Regions from separate parts of the Homo sapiens genome. Here all the other regions are linked to region 3. Evidence: promoter capture Hi-C in 16 types of primary human blood cells and fetal thymus (Javierre and others, 2016). All regions are on one chromosome and are shown on one strand. The core of a region is centred on a gene start or on the middle of the fragment in contact, and the rest is flanking DNA. Distances in the headings are between cores, read along the strand shown.

What was found. The method cuts DNA at HindIII sites, captures the fragments that hold promoters and counts their contacts. A CHiCAGO score of 5 or more calls a contact.
Region 1: a contact is called between a fragment that was not itself captured here and the fragment with the promoter of RORC in region 3, in 8 of 17 cell types (M1 macrophages, M0 macrophages, endothelial precursors and 5 more). The highest score is 9.7, in M1 macrophages.
Region 2: a contact is called between a fragment that was not itself captured here and the fragment with the promoter of RORC in region 3, in 2 of 17 cell types (M0 macrophages and M1 macrophages). The highest score is 7.5, in M0 macrophages.

Annotation. Positions count from the first base shown.
Region 1 is chr1:151,561,762-151,565,358 of GRCh38, reverse strand. TUFT1 (tuftelin 1) reads right to left here. Exons shown (of 13, transcript NM_020127.3): 2 at 3,194-3,268; 3 at 2,673-2,774; 4 at 1,369-1,455; 5 at 745-834. Among named protein-coding and RNA genes, the nearest start is that of MIR554, 18 kb to the right of the region's middle. The HindIII fragment of the contact is 1,878 bases long and covers 792-2,669 here.
Region 2 is chr1:151,500,327-151,503,686 of GRCh38, reverse strand. No RefSeq gene overlaps it. Among named protein-coding and RNA genes, the nearest start is that of CGN, 9.4 kb to the left of the region's middle. The HindIII fragment of the contact is 2,715 bases long and covers 126-2,840 here.
Region 3 is chr1:151,829,536-151,833,286 of GRCh38, reverse strand. RORC (RAR related orphan receptor C) reads left to right here and starts at 1,485. Exons shown (of 11, transcript NM_005060.4): 1 at 1,485-1,562. The coding sequence starts at 1,523. RefSeq lists enhancers at 2,177-2,864, 3,551-3,751. The HindIII fragment of the contact is 14,534 bases long and covers 1-3,751 here.

The sequences.
Region 1 (3,597 bases), core at 481-2,980, 270 kb after region 3:
GGATACAACTCAGAATCTAAAGGATGAGGGCGAAGTCACAAAGAGACAGCTCTGCTCTCCTGAGGACATTTCTGTCCTCGAGTTTTGGAAAAACTGAAAAGCAGGATCCCAGGATTATCCCTCCCAGGAAAGACTTACCCAATCTGTTCAGTCTAACAAACATTTACTGATGCCTTCTACATCCCAGACCTGGGGGGAATGGGAGGGTGAGGATACAGACACGAGGTGGGGTGGGGTGGGGTGAACTCCTAACCTTGAGGAACTTCCCATCCCAGGTTAGACATAACTATATACAAGATTAATAACAGGCTAGGGCACGGACTTCAATTTACGCTACAGGTATCACCCAAACTAAGCAAGATCAGCTTATGAGAAGTGTGGATTTACAGGTGATTGTCTGCTTTACAAAATTCTATTATTATAAGAAGCTTGATCACAGAATCCTTATAGATAAGAGGTTTGCTAACAACTGATGATATTTAATTTATATAAGTTCAATTTCTGTACAGTGTTTCAGGAGCAGGTGTACTTATGTTTAAGCTGACATGTGTAAATGTAAGTGCTCATCGGCTGGAGAGTCCTAACCAGATTGTGAGTGCTCCAGAGAAGCCAGCATCACCTCTATTTTCTCCATTCCTGGCAGGGATGCTAGATTTAGCACACACTGGGTAATTGGTAAATGAGACTGCCTGGCACAACCCCACCTCCTCGGTGGGGACCCAACCATGGACCATTTCCTATTACCTGTATCTCCTGTCGATGGAGAGAATCTCCTAGGTTCCTGTCAAGCTTGCTACTTATATCCTCCCGGAGCTTCTGTAGGCAGTTCCTGGCCTGGGAGGGGAGGGGAAGAAACTTGAGCTTTAGGGTAGAGAAAGAGAGCATGCCAACTCACCCAACTCTGTGCCCCATCCCTGGCCTGTACTGCGAGTCAGGCACTGTCCTAACGACTGGCTGCAGGATGGAGGGAGGGACCTTGGTCAAGTGGAGCTACAGCTGACATTCTTGTTGGGGAGACACAAGACACAAAAGACAAATAAGTAAAATGTGTAATATGTTATATGGGCATAAGTGCCAACGAGAAACACGAGCCAGGAAGGGAGTTAAGAAATGCTGTGAAAAGTGGCTGGTAATTTTCGATAGGTGGCTGGGACAGTGCTGGGCCCATAGTACTTAAGTATTTGTGGATTAATGGATCAGGTATGGTCAAAAGTTATATATTTGACACACGGGAGGGCATGGTGGCATTTCAGAGACATAAAGGAAAAAGAAGGGGAAAAACCAGAATCCACAAAAGAAGACAGTCACAAAAAATGTGAGATTTAGAGAAATGACCTAGGCACTGCGTGAGAGGTAAGGGGTGCCCACCTCCTGGATGTACTGGACCTCACTCTTCAGCTGGTTAATATTCTTCTCGTGAATCATCTTGTCTCCAGACCTCCCCTTCAAGTACACCTGAAATAAGAACACCATTTAGTTAAGAAACCTCAAATTAAATTAACTATACAAAAATAGGCAGCTTCATATAGTGCTGGTGGGAGGGTAAATTGTTACCACCAATTTACTGGGTGGAATTTGGTGATTCGGATCAGAAGACCTAAAAATATATTTACTTTTTGGTCTATCAGTTCTACTTCTGGAAATTTACCCTAATGCAATAAATTTAGCTCAATGCTATATAGCTGTATTGGCATAAACACTCACATATATACAGTCATGCATCACTTAATCATAGGAATACATTCTGAGGGATGCATCATTAGGCAATTTCATCCTTGTACAAACATCACAGAGTGTACACACACAAACCTAGATGGCATGGCCTCCTACACCCCTAGGCTGTATGGTGTACCCTATTGCTCCTAGGCTACAAACAAACCTGCACAGCATGTTACTGTACTGAATACTGTAGGTGATCGTCACACAATGGTAATGTATCTAAACCCAGAAAAAATACAGTAAAAATGGAGTATAATAATCTTATGGGACCACTGTTGTCTACGCAGTCCATCACTGACCAAAACGTTGTTATGCAGTTTTGTTATGCACTGACCAAAACTGTAACTGAGTCAATCATGTGGTATGGGATTTATATCTAAAAAAGCTGTTTTATAAAAAAAAAGAGAGAGAGAAATAACAAAAATCATTTTATTTTTTAAAAAATAAGTTCCATCAGCCAGGTGGGCTGGTGCACGCCTATAATACCAGCATTTTGGGAGGCTGAGACAGGACGATTGCTCGAGCCCAGGATTTGGAGACCAGCCCAGGGAACAAGGCGAGACTGTCTCTACAAAACTAAAAATATATAAATAAATAAATAAGTTCCATCAGGATGAACCCATTATAGGAAAACATAAGTTCCATAAACACACCTCCTACCTGTCTCCACAACCTCTAGCAGCAAAACATGGTCAGTGGATAGGCCCCTAGTAAGGTCATCCAGTCCATCCCCTTGCCTGGGGCCAGGCTGCACCAAAGTTGCTAACAGGCAGACTGTAGTCTCCTGGTATTAATTAAGATATTTCTAGGAGATTGCCAGGAACTAGCAGCTCAGGTCTGGTTCCTTCCATCAAACCACAAGCTCCCTTTGGCAACAACATCAACTGCTCCTTCTCATATACGTGCAGGGAGGAAGAGGACAGGGAGAAAAGTTGGAGGTGAACTAAGCTTACCTTAATGATCTCCTCATGTCCATCATGGGACTCCACCAGTTCTGAAGCCAGAGAATGACCAGCTGAGTGGCTGGACACCATGGCATAGGTCTTCCTGCCCGCCTGGCCAAAGAGAGATGAGAGAGAGAGAGAGAGAGAGAGATGGCTCAGACACCACATGGCAAGCCCAGAACTCCTGCCCCTCAGCTAATGCAGAAGACCTGTTTCTCAAAAGACTTGAAGGATTAGTCTGACTTTCCTCTCCAAAAATTCGTTTCCGAACTTCTAACAGAAGCCACACAGCAGCAAGAACACCGGCCAGGGAGAATGGACAGAAGTAGCAGTTTAGTTTTAATTTTAGTGGGGGACTCCTCCTGCCCCAAAGCAGTGCAGAAGGCTGAGGCAAGCTGGATGTTGCTGAAAGGAGGGGCTCCCACGCTCGCATCACCAGAGTCGGCTCCAGGCAGTACTTGGGTAAGAGGCCAGCAGCAAGGAAGCACTGGTGTGGGGAGGGGGCCTTGCCCACCAGAATTCCGCAGTACCTTCTGGGCTATGTGTTCAAGTTCATCTCCTGTCAGTTCACCCTGGAGAGTCAGCCTGAGAATGTCCACGCTGCCCTAATAATGACAATGACAGCAACAATAACCCCTCAACTTTACAGTCTACAGGTACAAACTGCTACCAGTACAGGGGTGCTTCTGCCAGCTCTGTGGAGCGGGTCTTATCATCACCACTTCACAGACTAGGAAAACTGAAGTCCAGGGAGGCAGCATTACCTTGCCCAAGATCAGGTGTTTGGGGTGGTGACTCTGGGACCACCCAACAGTTTTTTCTTTCACAACAAAGATTACCTGGCACATGGCTCTGTAGAGCTCCAGCAGGGCTACCCTGGTTCTTGGACTACAGGGAACACATTGCATGCATTCTTCTTTCTCTAGTTGTAGAG
Region 2 (3,360 bases), core at 234-2,733, 330 kb after region 3:
CTTTTTCTGGGTTGTTAAAACGCCATTCTGAGGAGAGAGCCAGTTTTCCTCCACACACCCAAACAACAGCTGATTCTACTTCCCATCTCGCTTTCCTCCTCTCATCAATGAAGGGGACAGAAGCTTGGCAGCTCAAACCTATACACACATCCCGCAAGCCCTGAGACTCCTCCAGTTCTCTCACAGTCCACTGTGGCAAAGAGTTTTAGCAGAATCCCATTAATTGCTGATTTGCTCAGGTTTTTTATCTGAATCTTTTTCAAAGTATAAGTCTCATAATACAGAGGCAAAATGACATATGGAAATAGCACTGAACTCCAAGACAAAAATACCTGATGTGGCAGCCATGACATCCCTTAGAAAGAATCTGCCATTCAACTGCCAGAAAGCAATTCACTGTCAGCCCACAGCTGCATCACCTTTGGGATCCACTACCATGTCAGAGCTAAGGCCACACTCTTCCTGAACAGCCCCAAGCCAATGACTGACAGTGTGGTTACTGGGACCTGGCCGTTTCTGCCCACTGTTGATTTCTCTATGTGATAACCTTTGCCCTGGTGCTTTCCACTGGGTAGACTGCCACTTGGAAGGATCTGCACCACAGCTTGAGGTTTTTCTTGCCCGATTTTGCTTCTGCCTTCCTTTACTTTATCAGGATAGGGAAGCCTATCCAAAGTCTTTCTCTGCCCATTCCTGCCTCCTTCTTTATCTTTCACAGGTGTTGCCAGCCAGTAAGCCTCTTGCACTCCTAACTTTGTCTCAGTATCTGCTCCCCAGACCACCTGAACTGACTCAGGTGACCACTCCAGAAGTGGTCTGAAAAAGCGAGCAGTAAGATAGGTTTAGGGAACTGCAGTACTCACTGCCTGGCTGGCAACAAGAACCCCTCCTGGATGTTGTGGGGTACAGGTAGTCTCTGGAACAAGATGGTAGCCAAGTTGCTAAATTTTCACTGATGTGAAATGAGAGAATGCTCCTGTGGTGGAACAGTTCAGGCATAGGGGGTAGGCGGAGGGACAGCAGTGAGTATAGGGACAATGGAATTGGCTGGCTGTTATTAAGTTGCACTGGGCCCTGCCAGGAGAAAATGAAAAGCTGAGAGTAGTTAACAAACGTTGGAAATTAACTGTGAAGGTCAGAGGGCCTTTCTGATGGCTTACAAAGAGGCCCTTATCTATAGCAGTGAGAGAGCAAAAAAATCTGAAGACCAAACTCGAGGACTTCAATAGAGCTCCCAGAGGCAGATCTGCAATCAAGGTCAGGACTCTGCTTGGGAAAACCTGGGACCCTAATACGTGGAATAGAAATATCTGGGCAGGTCCCCCCAAAGATTCTGGCTTTCTGCACTCCTCTGAACCCTCAGAGCCTTAAGACACTGCAGAGGCCTCTCCCCTCCCATGATCTCCTGACTGTGAAGATCTTAATCTTAAACTCTCATGGGTTAAATTACAGCATAGTCTGGTAGCTAAGGACATACTAGGCCTAATAAGGAAAGAAAGGGACTATAACCCAAAGTATCCTGCAAGAACTGGCCAACGTTTAGTGGTAAGAGTAGGGAAGTACCCATGGGATTGGATTTTGACAGTGCTTAATCAAGGGGATGAAATATAAAAGTGGATTAAGGGCAAGTTTTTTAACTTGGGGACCACTTTCTTGGGATAGAATATAACTTCCTGGCCGGGCACCGTGGCTCACACCTGTAATCCTAGCACTTTGGGAGGCCGAGGTGGGCGGACCACCTGAGGTCGGGAGTTCGAGACCAGCCTGACTCACATGGAGAAACCCCGTCTCTACTAAAAGTACAAAATTAGCCAGGTGTGGTGGCGCATGCCTGTAATCCCAGCTACTCAGGAGGCTGAGGCAGGAGAATTGCTTGAACCCGGGAGGCGGAGGTTGCGGTGAGCCAAGATCGTGCCATTGCAGTCCAACCTGAGCAACGAGAATGAAACTCCGTCTCAAAAAAAATAAAAATAAAAAGGAATTTAACTTCCTGGTAAGGACCTGCCCCTAGTGGCTCCTAGGAGCATGGAGGAAATGATAATGGTTGCTGAGTGAAGGTCAAATGTCTGTATTGCCAGAGCAACTGGGGGAAGAAAAGATTAAATGGCTCAGCAAAACGGGCATGATAGAGTGAATTCTAAGAATGCTCCATAGAAGGCCCGGAGGAATCCCTTTTTTTTTGAGATGGAGTCTCGCTCTGTCACCCAGGTTGGAGTGCAGTGGTGCAATCTCAGCTCACTGTAACCTCTGCCTCCCGCGTTCAAGTGATTCTCCTGCTTCACCCTCCCCAGTAGCTGGGATTACATACGCCACCACGCCCGGCTAATTTTTGTATTATTATTATTATTATTTTTGAGATGGAGTCTCGCTCTGTCACCCAGGCTGGAGTGTAGTGGCGCCATCTTGGCTCACTGCAACCTCCGCCTCCCAGGTTCAAGCAATTCTCCTGTCTCAGCCTCCCGAGTAGCTAGGACTACAGGCGCATGCCACCACGCCCGGCTAATTTTTTTTTTTTTGTATTTTTAGTAGAGACAGGGTTTCACTGTGTTAGCCAGGATGGTCTCGATCTCCTGACCTCATGATCCACCTGTCTCAGCCTCCCAAAGTGCTGGGATTACAGGCATGAGCCACCGCGCCCGGCCTAATTTTGTATTTTTAGTAGAGACAGGGTTTCACCATGTTTGCCAGGCTGGACTCAAACTCCTGACCTCAGGTGATCTGCCTGCCTTGGCCTTCAAAGTGCTGGGATTACAGGTGTGAGCCACTGCACCAGCCAGGAATCCCATTTACCAAGGCCATCAAAAATGTGCTGGTGAAAGTGCCAGCATCACACAGAAGCTTAGTTGTGGCTTTCTTCTACAAGCCAGTGCTAACAGGAGGAGACACTGTCACAAGCTTGGCTCTGTTATAGTGACAAGGATGATGGGTGTACTGAGGTAGTAGAGGCTGGTGGCAGCACTTAATTGCCAGAAGCCGTGGGATGGGGGTTACAAGTATCAGAGAGACTGGCAAGGGGCTTGACATGAAGAGTTGTATCGATGGTTAATAAAACATGCTATCCTTAGGGGGCAAAATGGATGTGCAGTCAAAACAAGGATATTGCTGAAGATGTGTAATTAACAGAGAGCAAGAATGGATGAGCAGGAACCTGAGGATGGAGCTCTCAGTTAAAAAGCATGCTCCTTTGTCTGGTTCCAGAACCTAAGTCAGTTTTCAGACCCAAAACTCATTGACTATAGAGGTACACTGGTCCCCAAAGACTGGCAACACCATGGTAATTATATACTATAATGATTCCCCAGTCCTTCCAAAAGGGGACTTGTAAGTATTTATTCAGGTGACTGTGCACAGATGACTGTT
Region 3 (3,751 bases), core at 236-2,735:
GAGCTGCAAAGCACTTTACCTCTCACTCCAAACCTGCCCAAGGTGCAGAGCCCCCAAACAGACCAACATCCTGTTCTGTGCAGAGATGCATACATGGATGCGTGGGCCCACATTTACCAAAAGAACACGGGGGATAATCAGAGCCTCAGAGGCATAGGCACATACCCTTAGACTCAGTGCAGAAGGTCCCCAAAACTTCCCCTCCTCTTTCTCACTACTCATCCACTGTCAATGACCCTAGGAGTTGAAAAGTCCTTCTCCACTTCTACCTTTATCTCTCAATCTGCAGCCATGGGGAGACTCTGGGAGCTACCTAAGAACAGAGGTGCTGATGGTAGCAGAGTGTGAAGCTCCAGGGTTGGGCAGGAGTGGAGGATGGCGAGACGAGACGGCAGAAGAGGGAAGGGACAGCTGCTTGCCCTCTCCATGCCAGGTGCCACGTGCACCAGGTGGGGGGGAGTGGGCGAGTCACGAGGCTGTGGCATGGCTGACTCCTGCTCTGCTGTTTACCAGCTGGGAACGAGAGCAGGAGGAGGTGCCAGGGAGCCTCTTGCTGCAGCCTGGCCCCTGGCCAGTTGCTTGTTGGGTAACCAGGAGAGTCAGGCCCAGCTAATCAAACTCTGGGCCCAGGCCATGCAGGAGAAAAGCAGCACCAGGATCCCCAGAAGCCTCGTCCTCTTGGCCCCCTTCAGAGCCTTCACTGCAGGCCTCAGTGTGGGCCACTAGGTCTGGGAGCCTCTCCTTCTCCCAATGAGTCCAGTGCAGCATCTCTCCTCTCCTCTTCCCCACCATGGCTTCTCTGCCTCCAGGCACTCCTCCAGGCCTGCCCCTTGCCCCAACAGATGAGGAGCACGTAGAAGCATCAGGGGGTCAGGGAGTCCTGGCAAGAGCAGCAAGGGTTAGGGGCAGGGGCCGAGCAGGCAGAGGCCTCAGGGAACTGAACAGTCACTGGGAGGAGTCTGACTGCATCCTAGAGAAGAGACACAGTCCCCCAAACCTGCCCTCTCCATCTCCCCTATGCCTGTCACCTGTCTTAGGTAGAAATCACAGGATTCTAAAGTCACAAAGACTTGGGTCCAAATCATAGCTCACCCATTTATTGTTCTTGTGTGAGTCCTTGGGCAAAATCATTAATATCTCTGAGAATCCCTCCACTCACTGATCAATCTGGAATAATAATGTTTCCCTGTGGTGGGTGCTGTGAATATTTACACAAAGTAAAAGCATGGATTTACATAAAGTGTCCTGCAAAGGGCCCAGCACACAGTAAGTGATTAATAAATGCTAGTTCCCTTCCTTTCTCCTGTCCTGTTTCTCCTCAAGGCTCCATGCACTGGTCCACTGGTCTCTCCTCATGTCCCCTCCTGGTGCCAGGACACTCTGCCAGCCACTCCTTTTCCCTGCCTGCTGGAGGGCCAGGTGCTCCCGCCTTCCACCCTCCGCCCTCCTCCCTCCCCTGGGCCCTGCTCCCTGCCCTCCTGGGCAGCCAGGGCAGCCAGGACGGCACCAAGGGAGCTGCCCCATGGACAGGGCCCCACAGAGACAGCACCGAGCCTCACGGGGTAAGAGGCCCATGGCCCTGCCTGCAGGTGGAAGAGACTGCTGGAGGTTCAGAGGAGGGCAGAAATGGCAAGAGACTGGGCAAGAAGTGAGGAGGGGAGGGAGGGACAAGAGTGCAGAGGAGAAAGCCCTGGGTTGGCAGGGAGTGAAACTGGAGGAGAAACAGGAGGAGGGGCTGGGGAGATGACAGAGGAGAAGAAATCGCAAAAGGAGAGAAACAGGAAAGAAAGGGAGAAGCGGGAGAAGGAAGAAACAGGTTGGAGGGTAGATGGGGAGGGAAGAGCCAAGTCAGGGGAGCCAGATCTAGACCCAGCGAGGGGTCAGAATGTGGACAGGCCCTCCCAGGTGTGGGCTTACCCCCCAGGAGGCACAGGGACACTGCTTCCTTGATCTGGCCAGGACCCCAGACAGCAGTGGCCGGGAGGCTGGCTGCTCCACCTTCTGTTCATTCACCAGTGGAGAAACCTGTCCTTTAAGGAGTGACAGACTTGGGGAGTGTGGCAGGGGGAACCACACCCTGTCAGCTGCCCATGACCACGTAGCCTGGTCCTTTCCTCGCCACTCACCCAGGGATGTGGGATTTCATCTCTGCAGAGAATGTGGGGCACTGGGCCATCAGCAGGGAAGGACAGAATGTCAGGCCGTCCTTGGCCCCACCCATGGTCCAAGTCAGGAACCCCCTCAGAGCAGGATCGCAGGGCCACAGGCTTGGTCAGCTGTGAGCATGGAGGAGGAAAGTTTGAGGGCCAGAGCCACCAAGCTCCAGGGCCACCTGGTGGAGGAAGAACTGGCTGCCTGGGTGAGCAAGGGGAGCACCCCCACCACAGGACTGCTCTGAGGTGCAAGGCTAGAGGCCAGGAGCCGGTGCCACGTCAGGGAGGAAGCTGGGTGGGGCCAGGCAGGAGCAAGGGGAGGTGGGCGGGGCTGGGTGGGGCCTTGCCACCTCGGGGCAGTCTTTTCTCCTCCCTCACCCCAGCAGAGCCCAGGCCATCAGGCCACTCGCCTCCACACAGCCTAGTGACCACGGCCTGCCAGTGGGGAGCATCTCCCGGGCAGAAGGGCACTGTGTGTGTGTGTGTGTGTGTGTGTGTGTGTGTGTGTGTGTATGTCAGGTGTCAAGACTGAACAGCAGAAGGAAAAAAATAACAGAATAGAGTCAGAGGTTAGGGAAGCTATAGGGGGTATAGGGCATGGTTGAAGGGCTTTCTGAGACAAAAGACTGGCCATGTGTTCTGTGATGAGCTGCTATGTGGATGTAGGAAATGGGCCAAGGTCTGGCAGGGGAATCCTCTTTCCAGGGGCTCCCTGGCTAGGTGTTTCATAGATGTTAACTGCATGAATGGGTGACACCCCCCCACCCACCAACCATGCTCCAGCTAAGGCCCTCCCCTCAACGGCTGCTCCCCCTGGAGGTCCGAGTATCCATGTGACCCCCATCGACCCACTCATGCTCCCTACTGCCCAATCTCCACCCAGACCCGGCCACGCAGCAGCAGCAGAGAAGGGAGGCCTTCCTCTTCAGGCTGGTAGGCCAGGGAAGCCTGGCCCGTGGAAGCCAGAGAGGGGTCTGTATTTGCAACTCTCCCCTCCTCTTCCTCCAAACATCCTCTCCCCCTACTCCCAACCCCCACATCTCTGAAGCCCTGGTGTTTTCAGGCATAGATAAGCAACCAAGAGATTTCAGTCCCACAGAGATTTAACTCTGGCTGTAGGATATTTCTTGTGCACCTCCAATGAAATTACAAAGTAAATAAGACCAACACAGTCCCTGCCTTCACAGGGCTTTACAATTTGGCAGGAAAGACCCATTTCATAGACAATGACACAATTACAGCAGTTAGGTGACAGTTGGTGACATGGTGAGTGCCAGGAAATAAAATGCAAGGAGCTAAATGTGTCAGCACAAGGGCAGGGGAAGGGGGTGTGTGTGGCTTCTCCAAGGAAGAAACATAATCAGAGACCTGAGGGAGAAAGAGAAGTTGGCTAGATTAAGGGGTACAGGAGGGACAGGCATTCTAGGCAAAGGAGCAGCTTGGGGGAGTCCCAGAGGCAGTGAGGAGCCTGACACTTCTGGGTACCTGGAAGAGGGCCAGTGTGGCCCAAGGGCAGAGGAGGAGAGAGGGGCACTGCAGGGGGTGGCCTGCCTGCCCTTCAGACGCCAGGCTCTGAGGGAAGGAGTGCGGCAGTGGGA